Linked DNA regions of Homo sapiens: regions 1, 2, 3 and 5 are each linked to region 4. Evidence: promoter capture Hi-C in 16 types of primary human blood cells and fetal thymus (Javierre and others, 2016). All regions are on one chromosome and are shown on one strand. The core of a region is centred on a gene start or on the middle of the fragment in contact, and the rest is flanking DNA. Distances in the headings are between cores, read along the strand shown. Region 1 overlaps CD101 (CD101 molecule). Region 2 overlaps TTF2 (transcription termination factor 2). Region 3 overlaps TTF2 (transcription termination factor 2). Region 4 holds the start of LINC02868 (long intergenic non-protein coding RNA 2868). Region 5 overlaps CD101-AS1 (CD101 antisense RNA 1).

The links. The method cuts DNA at HindIII sites, captures the fragments that hold promoters and counts their contacts. A CHiCAGO score of 5 or more calls a contact.
Region 1: a contact is called between a fragment that was not itself captured here and the fragment with the promoter of LINC02868 in region 4, in 3 of 17 cell types (non-activated CD4 T cells, activated CD4 T cells and naive B cells). The highest score is 5.2, in non-activated CD4 T cells.
Region 2: a contact is called between a fragment that was not itself captured here and the fragment with the promoter of LINC02868 in region 4, in 6 of 17 cell types (activated CD4 T cells, fetal thymus, naive CD8 T cells and 3 more). The highest score is 7.1, in activated CD4 T cells.
Region 3: a contact is called between a fragment that was not itself captured here and the fragment with the promoter of LINC02868 in region 4, in 1 of 17 cell types (total CD4 T cells). The highest score is 5.1, in total CD4 T cells.
Region 5: a fragment that was not itself captured here is called in contact with the fragment with the promoter of LINC02868 in region 4 in 8 of 17 cell types (megakaryocytes, erythroblasts, M2 macrophages and 5 more); the score reaches 15.3 in megakaryocytes.

What each region holds. Positions count from the first base shown.
Region 1 is chr1:117,034,306-117,037,005 of GRCh38, forward strand. It overlaps CD101 (CD101 molecule), which reads left to right. Exons shown (of 10, transcript NM_001256106.3): 10 at 1,863-2,247. All of the region lies in intron 2 of CD101-AS1 (CD101 antisense RNA 1), which reads right to left. Among named protein-coding and RNA genes, the nearest start is that of CD101-AS1, 24 kb to the right of the region's middle. The HindIII fragment of the contact is 921 bases long and covers 809-1,729 here.
Region 2 is chr1:117,072,665-117,075,364 of GRCh38, forward strand. TTF2 (transcription termination factor 2) reads left to right here. Exons shown (of 23, transcript NM_003594.4): 4 at 997-1,063; 5 at 2,206-2,700. Among named protein-coding and RNA genes, the nearest start is that of TTF2, 14 kb to the left of the region's middle. The HindIII fragment of the contact is 827 bases long and covers 934-1,760 here.
Region 3 is chr1:117,103,289-117,105,988 of GRCh38, forward strand. TTF2 (transcription termination factor 2) reads left to right here. Exons shown (of 23, transcript NM_003594.4): 23 at 1-2,700. Among named protein-coding and RNA genes, the nearest start is that of MIR942, 10 kb to the left of the region's middle. The HindIII fragment of the contact is 5,602 bases long and covers 1-2,700 here.
Region 4 is chr1:116,692,717-116,695,416 of GRCh38, forward strand. It overlaps LINC02868 (long intergenic non-protein coding RNA 2868), which reads left to right and starts at 1,396. Exons shown (of 4, transcript NR_149353.1): 1 at 1,396-1,481; 2 at 2,043-2,139. The HindIII fragment of the contact is 15,118 bases long and covers 1-2,040 here.
Region 5 is chr1:117,053,445-117,056,144 of GRCh38, forward strand. All of the region lies in intron 1 of CD101-AS1 (CD101 antisense RNA 1), which reads right to left. Among named protein-coding and RNA genes, the nearest start is that of CD101-AS1, 4.7 kb to the right of the region's middle. The HindIII fragment of the contact is 6,290 bases long and covers 1-2,700 here.

The sequences.
Region 1 (2,700 bases), core at 19-2,518, 340 kb after region 4:
CGCATCCCCCCTTGGAACAAGATAGCATCATTACCCTACATCTCTTGAAGGTTCAGGTCCCTGGGCTGCAAGGAGATAAGAGGCTCCCTCACACAGCCTCTGGAGGGCTAAATGAGATCCTACAGCAATGCCCTGGTGGGGCTTCTCTCTCCCTCTTATGTCACTTGTCACACCTGCTCTAGGTAATCATTTTCCTCCAGATGAGAGGTGTAGGAAAGGACCTGATGCCAGCAAGGAAAAAGGAATTGGTAACATGCTCTTTGTTTACCTAAAATCTGTCCCCACAACAAGAATGTAACTTCCTTCGAGGCAGAAATTCAATTTTCTTCTCCCAGCCCACCTACAAAGGCCCACTCAAGAGCAAGTTCTGTGTAAAGGTGCTTAACTAATACAGGTTCTTTGACAAAATGATAAAACATTTGTAACCTGAGTTTGGGGCTTTTTGTTTATTGTTTGATAAGACTTTTTATTAAGTAATTGCTGAGCAAAAACTTTGTAAAAACTCATGTAACAGTACTCCAGTCAGCCCCCCAAGGCCTCGTACCCCTGCTTCCCCCTACACCTCCATATCCCCACCAAAAGGTCCATCTGGCTCCTGGTGCTCAGCCAGTGCCTTATTTTCTTTGACCTGACAGCACTGGGTGGTAGGGAAGGTATTGTCTGGAGGAGCAGGGTTGACAGTGCCACCGTTCCCTCATACGCCTGCAGGGCTGGGGTTTGGGGCAGCAGTAGGTCAAGTCTGGTTCCTCAAGGTCTCCTATTCTCAGTAGCAAAAAGCAGCCGGTGGGGGTGGGGTGTAATGGCTTAAAGCTTTCAACAGCTGTCCCCACTGGGCCTACAGTCCCCTCATCTTTGTTTCAAAAGCCGCTCAGGCCCTGTTGTAGCCAGAATTGGAAATCAATCAGTGCCACCTAAAGACTTGAGAAAACACATCTATTTATTATCTATGTGACCAACCGAGTTGCTTTAACACTCGTTAATTTGCATTTCCAAGGAGAGCAATTTAGTTTTAATTATTTGATCAGGCACACACGTCCTCTCCAAACATAATTAGTTCCTTCCTAAGGGGATTATTGGTGGCTATGAGCACTCCTACTATGGACCTACCAGTTCCTTAAACTCATGTCCCTTCATAGCCTGATTTAAAATACTCCAAATCTTTCCTTAAACATGTCAGCACATTTGTTTCTTGTCATCCAGGTAAGGGAGCATATTTTTACAAACAACAAAGCTGAAATGAAGACTTTTTTTTTTTTTTTTTTGAGATGAAGTCTCGCTCTGTCGCCCGGGCTGGAGTGCAGTGGTGTGACCTGGGCTCACTGCAAGCTCCGCCTCCCGGGTTCACGCCATCCTCCTGCCTCAGCCTCCCAAGTAGCTGGGACTACAGGCACCCGCCACCATGCCTGGCTAATTTTTTTTTGTATTTTTAGTAGAGACGGGGTTTCACCGTGTTAGCCAGGATGGTCTCGATCTCCTGACTTCATGATCCACCCGCCTCGGCCTCCCAAAGTGCTGGGATTACAGGCGTGAGCCACCACGCCCGGCAGAAGACTCTTAGAAAGTGTGATGACCCCCTGCCCCTATTTTTTAGAAACCTGTATTTTAATTCAAAGGGAAAGAGAGCAGAAGTGAGCCTGGGCAGAGAATCTTGGATGGACTCTGCTGCAGCCCTCTGTGGGAGCACTCTTCACCCCATCCCTCCTCTCTGCTCACATGGACACCTCCTTCAAGCTTCTAGCTCAAACACCTCTTCCCCTTTTGAATCCAGCACAGAGATAGCACAGAGGAGATGTAAGCAGACAGGGAGGGTCTCCTGGGAAAGCAGACATTTAACCAACTTGAGCAATCAGCTTGTTTTACAGCTTCCTGCCTTGCTGCCTGTTTCTTCCCAAGCCCCGTGTGGAATGTGGTGACCTAGTCACCTGGAACCAGCTCCTGACAGACCCCGGCAACTTCTAGATGAACCCAAGTGAACTTTCCTCATTACCATCCTGAAGTCACTACCCCAGGGGGAGCTATAGCTTCATGACCGTAACATGTGACCTGTGTGCTGGCAGGACGACTCACTGCGGCTGCGCCACTGGGACCCCTCCCCTACATGCACCAATGCACTCTCTCCCCTCTCCATCACCCCATAAAACCCTCCTGTCACTTTCCTTCAGAGACACCGCTTTGGAGAGTATTCCCAGCGCTCTCCTTGCTTGTGACAAGTAAAAAAAAAAAAAAACTCCTTTTCATCAAAACTCATGTTCTTGTGGAGAGTTATTTGTTACTCGCCAGGCAAACAAACGCTGGTTTTTTTCAGGGAACAGAGACCCTCAAATATGAAACGGTTCCGGCCAGAGCACAGCATGGGAAGTGTGAGTTCCCAGTGGGTACCTGCTGCATGTCAGGCCCTGTGCTAGGAGCAAGGGGCCCTGTGGTGACTCAGACACAGCCCCATGCCCCTGGGATGCTCACCTTGTTTGTCCTGGATGCTCTGCTTTCATTAATGGGACTTAGAGCACCTTTGATAGTCTAAGCAGCCACATGGCACTCTTTGTCCCATAGGCAACTAAAATCCTCCAAAACTAAAACACCCCCACAGTATTTTCTTCTTTTTAAATTTACAGAATAAAATTTGCCCTGATCCAGTTCAGCAGACATTTTATGTGAAACCTCTTCTCTCTCCAATTACATACTGTTTACCTTTGGTTTTTG
Region 2 (2,700 bases), core at 97-2,596, 380 kb after region 4:
CGCCCACCTCAGCCTCCCGAAGTGCTGGGATTACAGGTGTGAGCCACCGCACCCGGCCAAGATATGAACTATTTTTTAAAAAATATTTGTATGTTTTAGAGAAGGGAGTCTTGCTGTGTTGCCCAGGTTTGAGTGCAGTGGCTATTCACAGGCACAATCTTAGCACATTGCAGCCTCTGGCCTCAAATGATCCTCCTGTCTCAGGCCCCTGAGTAGAGGGGACTATAGGTGTGTGCCACTGCATCCAGCTGCACTCTTTTAACATACCAGTTGGTTTACATATTTTCAGTGGACTCATAAATGTCATAGTTTTTTTTTAGTAGTTTTAATTTGTTTAAATCAGGATCCAAATAAGGTTCACAAATTGGAATTGATTAATATGTCTTTTAAGTCTCTGAAGTTTTCCCTTCATCTTTTTTTCTCCCTCGTAACTTATTTGTGGAAGGGATCAGGTTGTTTGTCCTATAGCGTTTCCCACTGCCAAGATTTTGAAGGTTATATTCTCCACAGTATAGTTTTACGCCTTCTTCTGTTGTTTCTATTTCCTATAAATTGGTAATTGGATCTAGAGGTTAGTTTTTTGTTTGTTTTGGCTTCGTTGTTTTGGGGTTTTTTTTGGGGCAACATTGCTTTGTAGCTAGTGTTGTGACCCCCCTTCAGGGACACACAGTGTCTGGCTGTCTCTCATTTCTCTGATTTTAGTAGCCATTGCTGATCAGTGTTTCTATTTCAGTCATTCGTTACAGACTAAAAAGAATAAACCTGTGTGCATTCTCTGGCTACCATGCCATATTTATTCTTGGACTTCCTAGCCCTTATAAATGTTCTGTGCAGTAAATAATTTTTAAATGTGTATATAAAAGTAATTGGTTTCAAGTGACCTCCCAAAGCCAGGTTCAAATAGTTGCAAGATGTTTTCTTGGATTAAAAATAAGCTTATCTCTTGTTCTAATGGATTTTCATAGCCTTGATTATTTGTGTTTTATACTTCATTAGATTGTTCTTCCGATGCATTAGAAGTAAGGCAGAGGGGAAACGCTGGTGTGGAAGTATTCCATGGCAGGTAGGAATTATTCATCTGTTTTCAAACCTGCTGTGTTAAGACTTTTAATATGCAGCATCACCTGAAAATACCTTGAAGTTCACGTAAATGAGTTGGTCTTCATCAGACTGTCTCCGAAAGATAGTTTTCTTTAAGCAAGGTAGGCCCTGTTGGGACTTTTATTCAAAGGATCATTTAGTCGTAATCAAGATTAATTATTTGCATCCTATTTCACTTAGTAAATATTTTTTGAGGTCTTAAATGTAGTCAGTATTCTTTTACTCAAGGAAAAAAATAGATTTCCTTGACTAACTCTTGTATCTTTTTATAGAGGAATTTCTACTTGATACTGGTATAAGCTAAGTATAAGCATAAGCTCCTAGTATGTTAGAACTAGGAGGAGCATCTCCTAATAGGAGAAGCCCTACAGATATTCAGTACGTGAGGAACTAGAAGTAGGGAGGTGATAAGACTTGTTTTGGCAGAGGTGTGGCTTGAACTTACGATTCTAGATTACCACAGTAAAATCCTCCTAAAGCCAAAATCAAAGCAAGTGTTTTAAGACAATGTTTAGGTTTGGGGAAAAGTTCATCTTAAGAGAATAGTTTTTTTCCTGAAAAGTATACACTGTGGCCATTGTGATTGTAAAAGCACTTTGGTTTGTCACTACTTTTCCTTGAGGCCTGGAAAAGAGTGATCATGGACAGAGAAGGAACCAAGCTTCGAAAGTATCGTGAAGAAATGAGTCCTTTGTGGGTTTGGCACGTCATCTTTTCTAGACGTGGAAATGGTACCAAGAATGTTCAGGAAATATTGGACTGCTTTTACTGTGTTTCCATTTCTTCTGCAGAATAATCCTAAGTGAATTAATGCAGGAACAGAAAACCAAATATCATATGTTCTCACGAGCAGGAGCTAAACATTGAGCACCCATAAACATGGGAACAATAGATACTGTGAACTACTGGAGAGGGGAGGAGGGCATGGGTTAAGAAACTATCTATTGGGCACTATGCTCACTGCCTGAGTGCAATATACTCATATAACAAAGCTGCATATGTACCCCCTGTATATAAAATAAAAGTTGAGATGAAAAGGAAAGGCATTCTAGATACGAAGTTTGTATTAATATTTTATATGAAGATTAATTATTTTGTCTTTAGGATCCTGATTCCAAAGAACATTCTGTATCCAATAAGTCTCAGCATGCATCTGAGACATTTCATCATTCTTCCAACTGGCTGAGAAATCCATTCAAGGTACTTGACAAGAATCAAGAACCAGCTCTCTGGAAACAGCTCATCAAAGGTGAAGGTGAGGAAAAGAAGGCTGATAAGAAGCAAAGAGAAAAGGGAGATCAGCTTTTCGATCAAAAGAAAGAACAGAAGCCTGAAATGATGGAGAAAGACCTCTCATCTGGCCTGGTACCAAAGAAAAAACAATCTGTAGTTCAAGAGAAGAAGCAAGAAGAGGGAGCAGAGATTCAGTGTGAGGCAGAGACTGGAGGCACACACAAAAGAGACTTTTCTGAAATTAAATCTCAACAGTGCCAAGGTAATGAGCTTACAAGACCATCTGCATCTTCTCAGGAGAAATCAAGTGGTAAGAGTCAAGATGTCCAAAGAGAATCAGAACCTCTGAGAGAAAAGGTTACCCAG
Region 3 (2,700 bases), core at 99-2,598, 410 kb after region 4:
TTCTGTGTTGTTTACATAGCAGTTTGTACCCTAAACAAACACTTGAGATTTTATACTTCAGGAAACTATTCAGATTTCCTTCTCATTAGCAATTGTTCCAAAAACACTTACTCTGCTAATTTCTGCTAGAAAGAATCACAGTTCTTCTAACACAGAAACATTTCTGTCCCTTGAGTTGGGAAACAAGACCCTATGTTAACCCAGTCAGAGTGTGGACTGAGGCATTCGGAGCCTATTTAAGCAGAAGTTTTCTATAAGGACAAGATTTAAAGGCTTACAAAGGTAAAGACAATGGCCTGGTGGGAAGAATTCTAGTCTAGAACGTTTGAGATTTGACTCTAGTTCTAGGTTCATCTTAGCTGGGTGTGTAACGTTGAAAAAATTGGCCGGGTGCAGTGGCTCAGGCCTGTCATCCCAGCACTTTGGGAGGCCGAGGCAGACGGATCACGAGGTCAAGAGATCAAGACCATCTTGGCCAACATGGTGAAACCCCGTCTCTACTAAAAATACAAAAATTAGCTGAGCGTGGTGGCGTGCGCCTGTAGTCCCAGCTACTGGGGAGGATAAGGCAGGAGAATCGCTTGAACCTGGGAGGTGGAGGTTGCAGTGAGCTGAGATCGCGCCATTGCACTCCAGCCTGGTGACAGAGCGAGACTCCGTCTCAAAAAAAAAAAAAAAAAAAAAGAGAGAGAAAAAAATCCTTACTTTCTCTACACTCTGATTTCCTCATTTGTAAGGTGGGCAGTTTTCAGAACTTAGCAGCAATAAGGTTTCTGATAAAATCAAGAAGCAAAGGAAGTAACATTGCCTTTTTGAAGTTTTGCTATAAGATTGACATACCAAGGTAAAGATTGAGTCACCTGAGAAGCAGTGGCTCCCAGGCCAGCAAGAATGTACAAACCTGGCTCTGCCATTTGCTGATTGATATTAGGCAAGTTGCAGATTCCTTGGACATCTCAATCCTTTCATCTGTAAAATGTGTGGATTAGCATGTATCTCATGCTCCACTGGGAATTTCATAGCAAATATATATACTACAACATGGTTGACCAGATAGATCAGTAATGTCAACTAGAAGGTATTAGATGAACATTGTCAGTCTCCAATCAAGCATTGTTTAGGGGAGAGGAATTCTTTCAGGTTCAAGCATTCTGGCTTTTAGTTTGGAGAGGGATGCAGGGATTGTAACTTAAAATCTTCAGATATTGAGGCCATTGACAAGTAATCTACTGTAAGGTAGATGCCTCCTGGTATTTTAAAACAGCTTTTCTAATTTCTCATGTTATTGTACATAAGCAAAGCAACCTAGTTATGTCTTGGGTAGGTGTTCTTATAGCCGTGAGATGCTACTGACTTGAGGTGGATGCAGAAAAAAATGGAACCACTGCCTTAATGGGATGGAATATACTAAACATGCATTCTTAAATCCTAGTGCTGGGATGGATTACATGAATTACATTGTGGAGCTGCATATGTGTCTCCCCTCTTCCCTCCCTGGGGGTTAGGCTGGGTTTGTTTGGTTTTTTTTGTTTTGTCCTCATGAGGCTTAGCATCTAAGGGAGACAGGCATGAATTAACAGAAGTGGCATTCTGGTATCTGTCTCAGCCTCATATTCATTTTAGTGTAAATCAGTTTCGTCAAGTCTAGGTATGACAAGGTGGGTCTTTGCACCTTCTAGCGATGGGCAGCATCCCACAACACAGTGGTCTAATTGAGGTGCTGCACTATGAGTCCTGCCTGTGTTAACCAGCCTTCCTTCATGTCACAATACTGCTGCTGGATTTGCTTTTTACATCTGCCTATTGCACCTGACTTGGGCATGGATGATATGAGGTAATAAATGCTTTGAAAACCATGAAGGGCCACACAAGTGCTAGTGTTATTGCTGTGGGACAAGGTCTGGGAATATGAGAACCAGCAGCAGCATGGGTGCAGCTGAGAACCAGATGGTGAACATCTGTCTCCAAAGTGCAACATTCCTGAGCACCGGATTTATAAGGCATTTCTTACTCGACAGAATTGACTTCATGGAAGGTATGTAGTTTGACTTTGCCTTAGCCATGTTGATCAAATAGGAGTATTGTGCATGCCGCAGCTAGACAGAGTCCTGGGCCCTTTAAAAACCTTGTCAGTGACTCCCATTGCAGGCCCAGCGCAGTGGTTCACACCTGTAATCCCAGCATTTGGGAGGCTGAGGCAGGCAGATCACTTGAGGCCAAGAGTTCGAGACCAGACTGGCCAACATGGCAAAACCTCCTCTCTACTAAAAATACAAAAGTTAGCCAGGCGTGATGTTGGGTGCCTGTAATTGCAGCTACTCGGGAGGCTGAGGCAGGAGAATCACTTGAATCCAGGAGGCGGAGGTTACAGTGAGCTGAGATCATACCACTGCACTCCAGCCTGGGCCACAGAGAAAGAACGGTGATTCTTTCTAGCAGAAATTAGCAGAGTAAGTGTTTTTGGAACAATTGCTAATGAAAAGAAGGAAAAACAGAAAAAAAAAATTTTCTGTTTATGGGAGGTGACTTATTTCTCTATCAATCCTGTGAGTGATTTAGCATGGCAATTCATGAACACTGAGTTGTTTCCTTGCTCTGATTGTCTGTTGCTCAATGAAATGGCTTTTAGCAGGGCTCAAAGGTGAAGCCAGATTCTCCTGCACTAATAGGATAAGCATGGAGACACCAGTGTTCAGTGTG
Region 4 (2,700 bases), core at 146-2,645:
TAACAAGAAATCCAGAGGTATGCAAGCTCCAGAGATGGTTAATTTAGTTCTTCAGTAATGTCATAGAAGACCCAGTTTCTTCCAGCTCGCACCCTAGCTATCTTCATCGGGTTGCACTTTTCCTCACGGTAACTCTCCTCAGAGTGAGAAGTGAGGCACAGCTGTACTAAGCAGATCTAATCCAGATAATATGACAGTGCCTGCTTCTCTTTTTACAAAGGGGAAAACCTCTTTTAGAACCCCCGGCCCTACCTAGTAGACTTCTGCTCATGGTTTTGGTCAGAACTAAGTCATGGGTCCTTTTGAAAAATCAGTTATTAGCACAGGGAAAGAGGGAATACTATGAACAGCTTAGGGCAAACACGTGGTCATGAATAGGACATGTTGCCAAGCAGACTGAAGTTATGTTAGGAAGGGAGAAGCGCAGGGATACAGTTATATTGGATAAGCAGCCACACAGCTTGCTGCTGTGTGCATTTATTCATTTATTCATTCAACAGATATTATCTATCATATACCCAGCATTGTGCTGGAGGTTGTGGACAGTAGTGAACATGAGAGACAAGATCCCTCCCCTGCCAGACCTTCCCCTCACCCCCTGCCCTTTGAGATGGAGAGGGTGTCCAGGCCTCCCCCCTTCACCCTCTGAGGTGGGGAGGCGTCCAGGGCCTCGCATCTCAGCATGGGACTGATAGGCTTGCCCTGACCTCTCGCAGGCATGAACACTGCTGTCTGGGCCGTGGCACACATGGGCATTTGTGTGGGCACCAAAGTCTTCCTCATCTGCGAGGTAAGGCTGAGGTGAGCTCTGTGTATGTGGGGAGCAGGAGCCTCCTGGGGTGCAGGCTGGGGTCTGGTCTGTGTGGGTCACCCTGGGAGCCTTCAGATGACCCTGGTGGAGCTAAGGTTCCAGACGTTCCCGTAGGGAAAGAGACGGTGGCCATGTAAACAAATAAACAAGATCCTTGTAGAGTGCCGTAACTATCATAAGGAAATCAGCAGAGCAGTGGACAGAGTGTGAACAGGGCCTGCACTGGAGGCGGACATGGAAGGTCCTCTGAGAAGGTAACATTTGATGAAGTAGGGAGCAACAAGTCCAGTGCAGATCAAGAGAGAGGACTCCAAGCAGAGCCAACAGCAAGTGCAAAGGCCCTGAGGCAGGAATGAGGTGGCTGTGTGGCTGAAGCAAAGTCTGTGCCTAATGACTAATCAAAAGTTGCTTCTGGCACCCAGCCTGGCTCCTGCCCCAAGCTGAAAACAGATCACCAGCAACAACTCTAGCTTCCCAAGCCTCTCCTGCCTAGACATGCAGCTCCACCCAGGTCAGAGGTACAGCTGCAGGGACCACAAAACAATGGGCTTAGCTCTGTGAAGACAGGAAAAGCCACCATGGTTTTGACAAAGAACCCAGGAATGGCGTTAAAGACTTCTTTGGGCAGTGTCCAATTTATGGAGCAATTTTGTTGGCCACATCTACGGAGGTATAAAAAAGACAGACATAAGGCAAGGATGGAACTACTTTGTTTATGTGTGTTGATATCCCTTCCCCATGCTCCTGTACGCCTCATAGCTCCTGCAGCGTGGTGGGTGATCCCAGTGGCTCCTATTTCACCTGGAGGCAGGACAGTGCTGCTGCCATGTGTGGCAGCTCTGCCAGGGGCTGAGGAGGCAGAGACTGTAATTCTCAGTTTGGTGTAATAATCCCTACCACTTTTCTGCGGCTGAGTTTCTGGGTGGGCATAAGTTCACTGGCAGCCTGGGTCCCCAATCTTATTCCCCTCCAGGCCTGGTAGCTCTTCTTTCTTGCAGTGAAAACCTCTCCGAGGGTTTTAATGATCCTGTCCAGTTCTGGCCTGCCACACCCATCACAGCCTGGTCAGTCCAGAGAGCGCTGAGTCCTCCTGCTTCCTCTGTCAGCAGTGACATCAGGCATCCTCCCTAGGCTTCCTCTGGAAACTCATCCCTTTTTGTCCCTCTTCCAGGTAGCCTTTTCCCCAGAATGTTGTTACTGGATTCATTTGATATTTTGTTTTCCTTTGAAGCTTTTGTGAAACTTGCGTAGGCTCATGGAGTATCCAAATGAGGCAACATCACCATCAGTCCTCCTTCCCTGGCTCACTGCCTCAGGAAACCAACCTGGTAGGTATTTCTGAGACTCCCAGTTTCTATGGAAGTCCCTGGGGATTTCTCACTCAAATCTGCAAAGTGCTTAGTCTTCCTGGACTTTTGGCTCTAGGCAGTTTGCTTGGAAGTATTGAAGGAGAGTAGCTCCCTGACCCCCATGTGATAATATTACAGGGCCTCAGAGCAGGGTTGTTTGGCATTCTAGGGGCTGGGAGATTGGTGAGACACCCCAGATGTCTGCTTGACTTCAGGGTGGCTGATTAGGGTGGGCTGATTACAGTAGAGTCCACCACCCTACACTCGGAACCGCAGCTTCCTCTGAATTGCAACTGTGCTGCTGCCTGGGACAGATTCCTTTCTTTTTAAGGTTGAAATTTCTCTTAAGGAGTCCATATTTGGGTTTTGTCCCTAACCACCCCACCTCCCCAATTCCCTGTCCTAAGTTCTGCAGGCACCAGGGACCGCCATTGTGAACACAGGGGGGTTCTTTCCTGGAGCTCCAGAATCCAGGTAGACATCTGGGAAGTGATGGGAAAAGAGGTCATTCCATCATTTGGACAAATCTAAATCTAAATT
Region 5 (2,700 bases), core at 1-2,500, 360 kb after region 4:
ATTTTAACTTAGGTTTAAGTTCCATACAAACGTTAAAGGAAAAAGACTTTCAAGACCATTTAAAAAGAGGAAGATGATGGCTAAAAAGCACACGAAAAAGAGTGCCACATCAATAGAAAAATCAAAATTCAAACAAAAGTCAGATACCACTTCATACCTACTAAAAAAGGCACGCAATAACAAGCATTGTTGAGGACATGAAGAACTGGGAACCCTCATACGTTGCTGGTGGAAATATAAAATGGTATAGCCACTTTGGAAAGTGGTTTGGCAATTTCTTAAAAAGTTAAACAAACTAACCATATGAACTAGCAATTCCACTCACAGGTTTATCTGCCCAAGAGAAATGAGAACAAATGTTCATATAAAGACTTTAACGTTAGGCCGGGTGCGGTGGCTCATGCCTGTAATCCCAGTACTTAGGGAGGCTGAGGCAGATAGATTACCTGAGGTCAGGAGTTTGAGACCAGCTTGGCCAACATGGTGAAACCCTGTCCCTACTAAAAATATAAAAATTAGCTTACGTGGTGGCTCGAGCCTATAATCCCAGCTACTCGGGAGGCTGAGGCAGGAGAATTGCTTGAACCTGGGAGCTGGAGGTTGCAGTGAGCCAAGATCATGCCACTGCACTCCAGCTTGGGTGACAGAGCAAGACTCCATCTCAAAAACAACAACAACAAAAAACAAAAAAACAAAAACAAAAACAATAAAACAGACTTTAACATTAATGTTCATAGCAATATTATTCCTAATAATTCCAAAGGGAAAATGATCCAAATGTCCACCAACTGGTGAATGAACACAATGGAATATTACTCAGCAATAAAAAGGAGTGAAATACTGATACATGTGCAACATGGGTAAACCTCACAAGCATTATGTAAGTGAAAGAAGACAGAGGCAAGAGACTACATATTACATGACTCCATTATATGAAATGTCCAGAAAAGGCAAACTTATAAAGACAGAAAGCATATCAGAGGTTGCCTTGGGACTAGCTGGGGGTGGCAGTTGGGATTGACTGCACACAGCTTTGAGGAAAGTTTTTGAGTGATAGAAATGTTTTAAAACTGGATTCTGGTGGTGATGGCACAACTTTATAAATTTACTTAAACAATGAATTGTGGGCCAGGTGTGATGGCTCATGCCTGTAATCCCAGCACTTTGGGAGGCCGAGGCGGGTGGATCACCTGAGTTCAGGAGTTCGAGACCAGCCTGGCCAACAGGGTGAAACCCCATCTCTACTAAAAATACAAAAATTGGCCAGGCGTGGTGGCGGGCACCTGTAATCCCAGCTACTCGGGAGGCTGAGGCAGGAGAGTCACTTGAACCCAGGAGGCAGAGGTTACAGTGAGCCAAGATCATGCCACTGTACTCCAGCCTGGCAACAGAGTGAGACTCTGTCTCAAAAAAAAAAAAAAAAGAATTGTGGCCGGGCGCGATGGCTCAAGCCTGTAATCCCAGCACTTTGGGGGGTCGAGGCGAGTGGATCACCTGAGTTCAGGAGTTCAAGACCAGCCTGGACAACATGGTGAAACCCCATCTCTACTAAAAATACAAAAATTAGCTGAGCGTGGTGGCACAAGCCTATAATCCCAGCTACTCAGGAGGCTGAGGCAGGAGAATCACTTGAACCCAGGAGGCGGAGGTTGCAGTGAGCCAAGATCCTACCATTGCACTCCACTCCAGCCTGGGTAACAGACAAGACTCCAACTGAAAAAAATACCTGTACATTTACCAAAAAAAAAAAAAAAAAAAAAGAAGAAGATAAAGAGCCTGCATTGAACCACTTTTGGAATAATATTTTAAGAACAGTGAAATTTGGAATCTAGTACTGAAAAAATATTGGTATAACAAAATAATTTGTAAAGTCTCTTGGCTTTACAAATTATAACCACATTTGTTCTCACTATAGTATCATCCTGATCGAGCCTATGTCAAAGGACAAGTTGAAAACAGTCATATGTTTGAAAGGCACAAAATGAAATGAAATGAAATTGAATTACCATTATATATCTTCAAACAAAAAGAATGAAACAGAGGAGGGTGGGCCTCAGTTTGGTTTTTATGTTACTAGGCTGCTACCTAGTGGTCATTTATAAAATGGCAGGACTTGGGTTTTTGGTTTTTGTCTTGGATTTGTTGAGCCATGTCTCTACACCACAGCAAATACCTAAACACTTACCGATGTGTGGGTTAAATATCTGAATGCATTGCTGAATAATTTATGCTTTATAAAAATACTATAGGCTGGGCGCAGTGGCTCAGGCCTGTAATCCCAGCACTTTGGGAGGCCGAGGCAGGTGGATCACCTGAGGTCTCAGGAGTTCGAGACCAGCCTGGCCAACATGGCGAAACCCCATCTCTACTAAAAATACACAAAATTGCTGGGCGTGGTGGTGGGTGCCTGTAATCCCAGCTACTTGGGAGGCTGAGGCAGGAGAATTGCTTAAACCTGGGAAGTGGAGGTTGCAGTGAGCCGAGATCACGCCACTGCACTCCAGCCTGGGCGACAGAGCGAGACTCCGTCTCAAAAAAAAAAAGAAGAAGAAGAAGAAGAAAAAATACTATAGTGGCAAGAACTGGATTGAAAGTTCTGAAAAATGGCCTTTAGTCCCTGATTGGCTGCTGTCAGCTTTGTGACTTTGAGCCAGGTCAAAATTAATCCATGGGGACTATCCGGTTCCAAAGTTTTAGGAG